Linked DNA regions of Homo sapiens: region 1 is linked to region 2. The links are contacts of gene promoters, found by promoter capture Hi-C in blood cells and fetal thymus (Javierre and others, 2016). All regions are on one chromosome and are shown on one strand. The core of a region is centred on a gene start or on the middle of the fragment in contact, and the rest is flanking DNA. Distances in the headings are between cores, read along the strand shown. Region 1 overlaps CPNE5 (copine 5). Region 2 holds the start of PIM1 (Pim-1 proto-oncogene, serine/threonine kinase).

Region 1 (4,677 bases), core at 28-2,527, 400 kb after region 2:
AATTCAGCATCTCATCCACAAATGTTTAGGGAACCCCTGTCATGTACCAGGCACTGTGCTAGATGCTGGGAAATCAGCAGGGTGCAGTCTTCACCCTTCACCCAACCTAGTGGTGTTTACATGCCAGTAGGGGAGGCAGACATTAATCCAATAATCACACAAGGAAACATGTAATTATACATTGTAGCAAGCGCCGAGAGAGCGAGTGGGGCCACCACCCAAAATGGGAGCTGTGAGACTGTGTTGGTTTCTGTTGAGTCAGGAGAACCCATCCCTGTCTCCTGGTGATTGCTGCAGCTCAGGTGGGTGAGGTGGTAGGGGGCTCATGGGCAGGGCTCTCTGGACAGCTAAGAAAGCTGGGCCTCTGGGCCACTCCGACAGGAGCACTGGGGTGTCGAAACAGACACCTGGGGTCAGGCGTGGTGGCTCACGCCTGTAATCCCAACACTTTGGGAGGCTGAGATGGGCTTGAATCCAGGAGTTCAAGACCAGCCCGCGTAACATAGTGAGACCCCCATCTTTACAAAAAAAAATTTAAAAATTTAAAACTAAATTTAAAAAAATTAAAACATTAAAAAAAATTATCTGGGTATAGTGGCGCACATCTGTGGACCCAGCTACTCAGGTGGCTGAGGCAAAAGGATCACGTGAGCCCAGGAGTTCAAGGCTGCAATGAGCTATGATTGCACCACTGCACTCCAGCTTGGGATGCTGTCTCAAGAAAAAAAAAAGAAAACCTTAAAGACAAAAAAGAAAACAAACAAACAAAACCAGACACCTTGGGGCAGCTGGGAGCCTGAAAAGGCATGTTGAGGGGATGATCAGCAGATGAATGGCCTCCAGGCACCCCTGTTACACTCCGAAGAAACCCCCAGGCTGCCAGTTTGAGACATGAGCTTGTTCTTTTTCCTGCCTCTTGGCTGGGACAGAAGAGCCACAGTCTGTTCCACAGGTGGTCACTGAGTGCCTCCTGTGTCCCAGCGTGGCGCCTCTAGCTGTGCGGATTTAAACGAACAGGGTCGCCTTCCCATCTTTAGGGAGACTGTGGTCTGACCACAGGCAGCACAGATGTGCACATGTATTTTAGACAGATAAATAAGTGCACAAAATAAGACTGGGAACAAAGACGGTCTTAGCGCTGCAGTCAAACAAGCCTCTGTTACACATCTAGCTGGCTCCTGGGGCTTCTAGAGTGGGTGAGGGGATGAGAGGACAGGCTGGTTGGAGCAGTGAGAGGACGGGCTGGTTGGAGCAGTGAGTTCTAAAGAAGGCCCAGGAAAGGCTGGAAAGTCAGGGGTGGAGGATCCTGGGGACAGGGGCACGGGAATAAAGGGAGATGGAAACAAAGTGAGAGGAAATTCAAGGTAGGGGGATGGGAGAGTATGGCAGTTAAAGTCTCACAGGGCAGAAGGAATTGGGGATCCCTGGCCCAACTGACCCCTCACAACCCTGTATCTCTAGAGAGGAGCTCCCAGGGTTGCAGGAGCCAGCTTTGTCAGGGACAGTGAAAGGGGCAGCAGGGCTCGGAGGCCTGGCTTCACCACTGGGCCGTTGGAGGAGGTGGGTATTTATTTGGTGGGAGGGGCAGGCTCCCACCTCCCACTCTGAGGCAGAGCCTAGCCTCATCTCGCTGCAGGATGGCCCTCCCCCATGTCCAGAAGCAGATCTTCCATAATGTGACTGACAGTAGTGTTAATCAAGGAGGCCAGGGATGTCACTCTGGCTCCAAGAACGATCAGGCCTATCCCCCCGCCCCCCAGCCCCAGTGTAACCCACGCACCCAACAGACACTCAGGAGGTGCCAGTATCAGAAGGCCCTCCAGGGTAGGCAGGGGAGGGCCCTGTGCAGGAAAATGGGGCCACTGTCCCCTCCTTCCAAGACACCTCTTGGAGCCTCACAGAACGTAGTTGATTTAATTCAGCAGCCGTGTCTTCCAAGCCAGTCAGGCCCCAGGCACTGTGTTGGGTGCTGTGGGGGCCTATTGACCCAAGCCTCCCTCTTAGGTTGCTCCCAGGCCAGTGGGGAGACAGACAGGTCATGATAATAGCAAAGACTCCTATAGCACTTAACCATGGGCCAGGCCCTGCTCTAAGTGCTTTATGTATAGGAACTAATTTAATCCCCCCAACAATTAGCTCATTGCAAAGAGGTGCTGATGCTAGCCACATTTTACAGGTAAGGAGACAGAGAGGCCCTGAGAGATTAAGTCACTTGCCCAGTGTCTTGCTGCCAGCCGGTGGTAGAACCAGGATGTGGACCCCGGCAGCCTGGCTCTAGATTCTGTGTTGTTAATCCCTATGCACTGTTGCCAGATAGCCAAGACATGGCATGACAGGGCTGTGACCAGGGTGCATCTGGGGGAGGCTTACTAATGAGCACCTTGCTCAGGGGTTAGGGGCAGTTCTGCTTTCTGATTAGAGGTAGGGAAGCTGCTTGGATTGGTTTTAGTCCTCAAAGCATTAACGTCCTTCTGGCTTTAATACCAAATAATTCAGAGGGGAGAGGAGAGGGGAACAGCAAGAAGGAAGAGGAAGACCCAAAAGGCCTTGGTACCTGCCTGGGTAAGGGAGTGAAAGAGGGGAAGGGATAATGGTTCAGCGTTTGAGGGCAGGAAAAGGTGGCACCACCGACAGAAATGGGCAGTGTGATCGGCAGCCAGATTCTTACTCACAGATTTGTGTTCCGCAGTTCTTTTCACAGCCTATCTGAAACCCATTTTTAAAAAAATTATCCTTCTTAAGTTATAAAGATTATGTTTGTTGTTTGAAAACGAGCTGCTGCTGTTGAGAGGTTGGGGAAAGAGAGGTAAACTTGGTTTCAGCCACATTGAGAGGAGGCAGCTGTGGACCAGGCACCGCTAAAGCAGGAGGGGACAGCAGTCTAGGGTCTCCAGGAGGGGGGTGGCCAGAGATCTGGTGCCCTGAGAGGCCCTGTGGGTGATGCCAGAGGCCAGGAGCAAGAAAGAAGAGGAGATGGTCAGAGGGATAGGAGGGAACTAAGAGGAGGGCGGCACGGTCAGGGATCATTCCCTCCTATTGTGAGAAGAGGTACAGGAGGATGAGAACCCGGGCCTGATGAGAAAGGGCAGTGTTCTCGGAATGATGGGTGTAGAAGCCAGGTAATACGATTACAGTTACTGAGGACTTAGGACATGGACCAAGTTGTATTCTAATTGGTTTAAATGCGTTATCTTATTTTGTGAATTTAAATTTTACAATAACCCTAGGAGCCGGGTCTAGTGCTGTGCCTATTTTACAAGGGAAATAGAAGAGAAGATATTATATAACTTGCCAGAGTAAGGAGAAGCTGCATTTCCCTCCTGTTGAAATTGCCTCTGGCCTGGCCCTCTGGCCTGGAGTCTCCCTGCCTTTGCTATGTGTCCAGTCCACACAAGGCCAAACCTGAGTGACCTAGCTGAGCAGAGCTGAAGTCACAGGAAGTGGCATCAGGATCAGAGCCAAGCCAGCCTTCCGGTGGGGTAAAGTGGGGTGATGACAGGAAGCACTTCCCCTGCCTTCCTGGAATTTGCCCTACTCTCTTAATGTTCTGTGACTTGAGGATTTGTCCCTGTTAAACCACAGTTGTCTGGGTCAGGCTGCTCACACCTTGATGCTGAATGAGTAGATTTTAAGAGGGTGTTAAGAGTGTGGAGTCCTCACCTGGAGAGAGGAAAGGAGTCACCGCAGCTTCCCACTTCTGCCTGGCACCCTTGATGTGTGAGTTCCTTCTCTTTTGCATCCGGCCACAGATGAGCTCCCAGGAGGGCCAGGCGCCCTATCAGGCATCTCCACAGATGGCCTCGATGAAGGGCATCGTACCGTTCTCGGTATTCACATGCAGAAGCTGAGGCTCAGACGGGAGGCACGGTCACCGCGGCACTGCCCGGTGTTGCGCAGTGCAACCTGGGGGCCGAGATTGCTGCCAGTCTCACTGCCTGCCCCAGATGAGGCCCTGATGCTCCTCTTCCTGAAGAGTTGAGTGTTGGACTGACTCAAGTCCATTTAAGGCAAAACCCCTCAGGGCCTGTCAGCCCTCGGGACTTGTAAGCCGCAGGGAAACCTTCCCCCTGCCAGGCAGAGGCTCATTAGGAGGCAGACCTTGCAGCTCAGCTGGGAGGAAACTATAGATAGAGCTAGTTGGTATGCCGTGGGGGCAGCCTGGCGTTTTGGCTGGTGTCTCTCATCCCTGCTGGCTTGCCCAGGCTCACACATATCTGGCTCTGTCATTGTGGCTCTAGGTGTCCAGAGGCCCAGGTCACTGACTCCTGGCATCACCACTGACCAGCTGTGTGACTCACGGAGAGCCACATACTCTTGGCCTCCTTTTGTGATTTTGTAGAATGACGGTATTATTACCTGCACAGCCCATTTCATCACGTTGCTAGGAGCTCTCAGTCAGCCAACAAATATGTATACAGCACCTGATATAGGCTAGGCACTGTTCTAGAAGCTGAAGATACAGCAGGAAACAAACAAACAAAAATCCCGGGCCTCATGGAGCTGATATTTTCAAGAAGCATGGGAATTGTTTGAGAGACAGGAGCTTGGATAAAGGGATGGAGTGTTTTAGACAGGAACAGAGCAACATGTGTCCAGCGCTGACTGTACGTGGAGATAGTTTACTTGCACAGCAGCTCCAAAGTGGCTGTGATTTTTCTCAATTTGGAAAGGAGGGGA
Region 2 (4,605 bases), core at 1,837-4,336:
TCCCATGAAGACTAATAGCCCCATTAAGACCAATAACCCCATGGCCAGGGGTTTCCATCAGTTACCTGAAGAGACCCTCTGCCTGAAGAAAACCTGGCCCCTGATGATCTCTTCGTCATGCTCGAAAGGAATATCTCCACACACCATATCATACAGCAGGATCCCCAGGGACCAGACTGCCGCCGACCTGCCATGGTAGCGATGGTAGCGGATCCACTCTGGAGGGCTATACACTCGGGTCCCTGTGAGCCAAGGGAATAGAAGAGAAAACACACTTTTAGCAAAAACAAGCACAAAGAAGCTGGGTGGTATATATAACTCTTTCTTTTAAAAAAAAAAAAAATCCCTTCTCTCAGGAGCTAGGTGAACTCCATTTTTCCCTCTGGGCTAAGGAGAGTGGAGGCGCACCTTACGGCATCTCTCCAACCCAAAGCATTACCCACCTCTCTGCTAGCCCAAACCATAAACTGAAATTCTTTATGAACTGCTCCAAGAAACAAACACAGCTGGCCGCAGACCCAAAACTTGAGGCCCTGTGAGGCAGGACCGCCTGCGAAGGATGAAGGGATGCATGTCTGCACAACCAAGAAAGGTATCTCATAGACTATCCTTAAATTGCATTCACCACTGCCCAGGAGCCCGGGTGAGATTCTCATGGCCGACAGGATCCAAGCAAGGATGCTTGCACAACATCCTAAGTCAGGGTGCCCTTTGGGAGGCCTTCCTCCCCACCCGATGCAAGCAGGAGCAGACACCCACACCCTTTCCTCCCTAGACTGGAAAGGTAGACAGAGCTGCAGGGTTGGTTTCAGACCACGTGATTCCTGTTTACAAACTTTGGGTAGTAAAAGAAAAAGGAGGGGCCATGCCGCTGGTGCTCACCAGGGGGCAGCAAAGACTTGAAAGAAAAAACATGGGAGGACCCGGCCAGCCATTAACTGTTAAATACAAAAAATGCAGCCCAACCCAGCGTCCTCCAAGGGCAAATAAACATAAACCACAAGCCCGAGTCACAAGTTTTGAAAGGCTGTCGTTTGTTAGGTTAAGCCGCTCAGATGATGACCCACCCTCCGCAGCTTTGATCTCAGGCTCTCCATTCCTTCTTTTCTGAAAGAACCCGCTCCAAGCCCCTCCCTAGGATAGGTTTTCATCCTCTCTGCGGAGACACCCAACTAATTTTCAAACCAGCGACAGATCTTATTTCACAACATTCATTCCTGACTCTCTCTCCCCTTAACACTAAAGAAAAAAAAAAGCCACCAGTAATAATATAGTTCCTATTCCTTAACCTTCCCTAGATCAGAAAGGAGTTAAGAACTGCAGCTCTAAAACTACCATACAGAAAACTAACTCCCTTATAAAATAAAACAAAAATTACAAAACCGGCATCAATTTCCACCTCTTCCCCCGCCCCCATCCTTTTACTGGCGGGGAAACTGGGTCAGACTTTAGAAAAATCTGGGCTACCGCCGGTTGCCCACAACCTCTTATTCATCGGGAAAGCCTGGAACTAACTGAATTCCACTTGAAGAATAAAATCATGCCAGAAACATTACAGGTTCAGCTGGCTGAAAATCCCCGGCTTTACTACGCTGGGAGGCTCTCCTGCGTCCCACCCCGGCTAGCATCGAGCCAGGCGGCCCAATGACCTTTACAAAAGGCTGGCGCGGGAGACTGGCCGAGGCCTCCGGACTGGGCCGGGCCGGGCCGAGTCACCTGGGCAGCTCCCTCCCGGGCCTGGCTCACCATCGAAGTCCGTGTAGACGGTGTCCTTGAGCAGCGCCCCCGACCCGAAGTCGATGAGCTTGAGCTCGCCGCGATTGAGGTCGATAAGGATGTTTTCGTCCTTGATGTCGCGGTGGAGCACCCCGCAGTTGTGGCAGTGCCGCACGGCCTCCAGCACCTGCCAGAAGAAGCTGCGGGCCAGCTCCTCTTGCAGGGCTCCCCTTTCCGTGATGAAGTCGAAGAGATCTTGCACCGGCTCGGGCCTCTCCAGGATCAGGACGAAACTGTCGGGCCTCTCGAACCAGTCCAGGAGCCTAATGACGCCGGAGAAACCCGAGCTCACCTTCTTCAGCAGGACCACTTCCATGGGCACTCGAGTGCCATTAGGCTGCAGGGGCGAGGGGGCCGCGTTAGGGCGGGAGTCGGGGGCGCCCCTCACCCCACCCACTCATCCTGGGGGTCGCTCCTGCAGGGCACTCACCAGCTCTCCCCAGTCGGAAATCCGGTCCTTCTCCACGTGTTTGATGGCCACCTGGAAGCCCAGGGTCTCCGTCAGGTTCCCTCGTCCGGGCTAAAGCACGCCCGTGCGCCCCCCGCCCGGCGCGCCCTCCCCACCGCGGGGCGCCCACTCACCGGCAAGTTGTCGGAGACGCGGATGCCTGAGTAGACCGAGCCGAAGCCGCCGCTGCCCAGTAGCGGGCCCACCTGGTACTGCGACTCCAGGGGCTCCTTCTCCTTGCCTAGGAAAGGGGGAAGCACGGGGACTCAGTGCCGGCCCGCGAGCCGCCAGCTCCCCACCCAGGAGATCCCGCCGCCGCCCCGCATCCCCGGGCCGGAGGCGGGGGGTGCTCTCACCGGGCGCCAGCTTGGTGGCGTGCAGGTCGTTGCAGGGCGCGGCGCGCAGGTGGGCAAGCGAGTTGATTTTGGACAAGAGCATCCCAACCTCCAGGATGTCGGCGCAGGGACGGTGCCCAGAGGAGCTGCCGCAGGAGCCGGAGCCGGGGCTGTGCCGAAGGCTATGCCTGGGGCTGTGGCTGTGGCTGTGGCTGCGGGTGGCGTTGCGGCTGTGGCTGCGGCTGGCGCGGAAGGCCGAGGGCGAGTCGGAGGACAACTGAGGGCGCTGCCGGGACTGGCGGCGGGAGGGCGCGCCAGCGGGGTCGGGCAGCGCTGAGAACGGCGGGGTGAGCGGCTCGTGGGGCTCGTGCGGCAGCGCCGCGGGGCAGGAGGCTAGTGGTTGCTGCTGCTGCTGCTGCTGCTGCTGCTGCCGGTCCCGCCGCCGCCGCTGCCACCGACTCCTCTCGGGCCTCCTCAGCCACCGCGGCCGCTGCAGCAGACGCCCGGCTCGCCCCGCAGCCAGGAGTAAAGGGGAGGAGCGCGCCGGCGGGGAGGGCGCGCGGGGAGGGCGCGGCGGGCGGGGACGGGGCGGGGCCTCTCCGGGAGGCCAAGGCGGGGAGCAGGGCTGCCGGGCCGGCCGAGGGAGGAGAGGGGGTGGGGAAGCGGCGGGACTGGGCGACTCCCCTCGGCCCCCGCCCCGCGCGCTCTGTGGCCGCGCCCCGGCCCCGCCCCTGCCAGCGCTACTCCAGCCAACCAGAGGCCGATTGATCTGCATAACTCGGCGCGCCCCGCCCCCGCCCCGCCCAGCTCTCGCGGTCAGAATGGTCTCTACGCCGCCACGACGTGGCGGGAAGGAAAAGGCGCCAAAATGGAGGGGGAGGGGCGCGGGGCGTGAGGGGAGGCGGGAGCTGGGTGTAGGGCCGCGAGGGAGGAAGGATGGGGAGGGGCGTATCGATTCAAACCCAAACAATAACAAAGCCATCAAAGGCCGCCCGAGGCCGGCTCTGCGGCTCTCCGTTTCGCTGAGGGTTTTGGGTCAAGGGCTCGAGCCGGAGCATAACAAGTTGCGCGGAGACGACGGGCGTTAGTGTGTCAGGCGGGGAGGCCGGCGCGCCGGGTGTCGGACTGTGTGTGGGGATGCCGACGAGGGTGGTCTTTCTGTGTGACTCAGACCCGAGACCTCCAAGTCGGCTGGGGCGGGCTGACGTCGCGCTGTAGGCTGGGGGCGGATTCTGGGGGTTTGTGTGTTGGGGGGCGCGTCGGGGGCGAAGGATCCGCAGGACATGAGTCACGGAGGGAGTGGAGGAGTCAGGCCTGGAACAGAACTGGAGGCGGGAGCCCCGCTCCTGCGGGAAAGGGATGCAGCCCTCAGTCGTTCCGGCCGGCTAAAAGCTCAGCCACGGGATTCCCATTTTAGAAATGCAAAAGCACCAGCGAATCCTGATTTCTGGGAAGGGATGTGTGTCAAAGGGCCGGGTAAAGAGGAAATCACGAAGCAAATGTTAGTGTTGTGATGCCAGATGCTGCCTCAGCCCCTTCTGTGAGGGCGGAAAATTCCTCATCTAAAACGAGGGTGGGAGGGTGCGCTTGATTTAACCAGTTTTCACGTTGTAGTCACCTTTTCATCAGCCTGTTATTACCAGGCAGGCAATACCAGCAATTATTGGCCAACCCCAAGTCTTGTCTCAAAGGAAACCCCCCACCCTCTGCCTCCCTTGGAAATAACCCGGAACACTGACCAATTCCACTTGCATCCTTTGTCCTTTTAAACTTCATGTAGAGTTGATAACGACGTGTGAAATGAGTAAATTAAAATACTATATAATCCATAAATTGAATTGTCAGTGGCCTAAGTAATTGAAAGCTAACTACATTCTATTTTAATTTTTTGAAGTGCCTGCCATTTAAAGGAAAAATCAGGATCCCTATAGCTGTCATTAGTGAATTTAAATGTTTCCTTTGAAAGTTTTCTACAGTGCTTGCTTTATAAAAGTGCCCAGATCCTCCACAACTTTTATGAATTTATCCTACAAAATATTACATATT

Evidence for each region. The method cuts DNA at HindIII sites, captures the fragments that hold promoters and counts their contacts. A CHiCAGO score of 5 or more calls a contact.
Region 1: a fragment that was not itself captured here is called in contact with the fragment with the promoter of PIM1 in region 2 in 2 of 17 cell types (naive B cells and naive CD4 T cells); the score reaches 7.0 in naive B cells.

Annotation. Positions count from the first base shown.
Region 1 is chr6:36,768,911-36,773,587 of GRCh38, reverse strand. The region is part of intron 10 of CPNE5 (copine 5); the gene reads left to right. Among named protein-coding and RNA genes, the nearest start is that of CPNE5, 68 kb to the left of the region's middle. RefSeq lists enhancers at 1,171-1,670, 4,389-4,677. The HindIII fragment of the contact is 8,826 bases long and covers 1-4,677 here.
Region 2 is chr6:37,168,633-37,173,237 of GRCh38, reverse strand. PIM1 (Pim-1 proto-oncogene, serine/threonine kinase) reads right to left here and starts at 3,086. Exons shown (of 6, transcript NM_002648.4): 1 at 2,581-3,086; 2 at 2,359-2,465; 3 at 2,207-2,257; 4 at 1,747-2,113; 5 at 66-242. The coding sequence starts at 2,662. RefSeq lists silencers at 969-1,068, 2,258-2,577, 2,838-3,617 and enhancers at 728-1,321, 3,243-3,841. The HindIII fragment of the contact is 5,698 bases long and covers 1-4,605 here.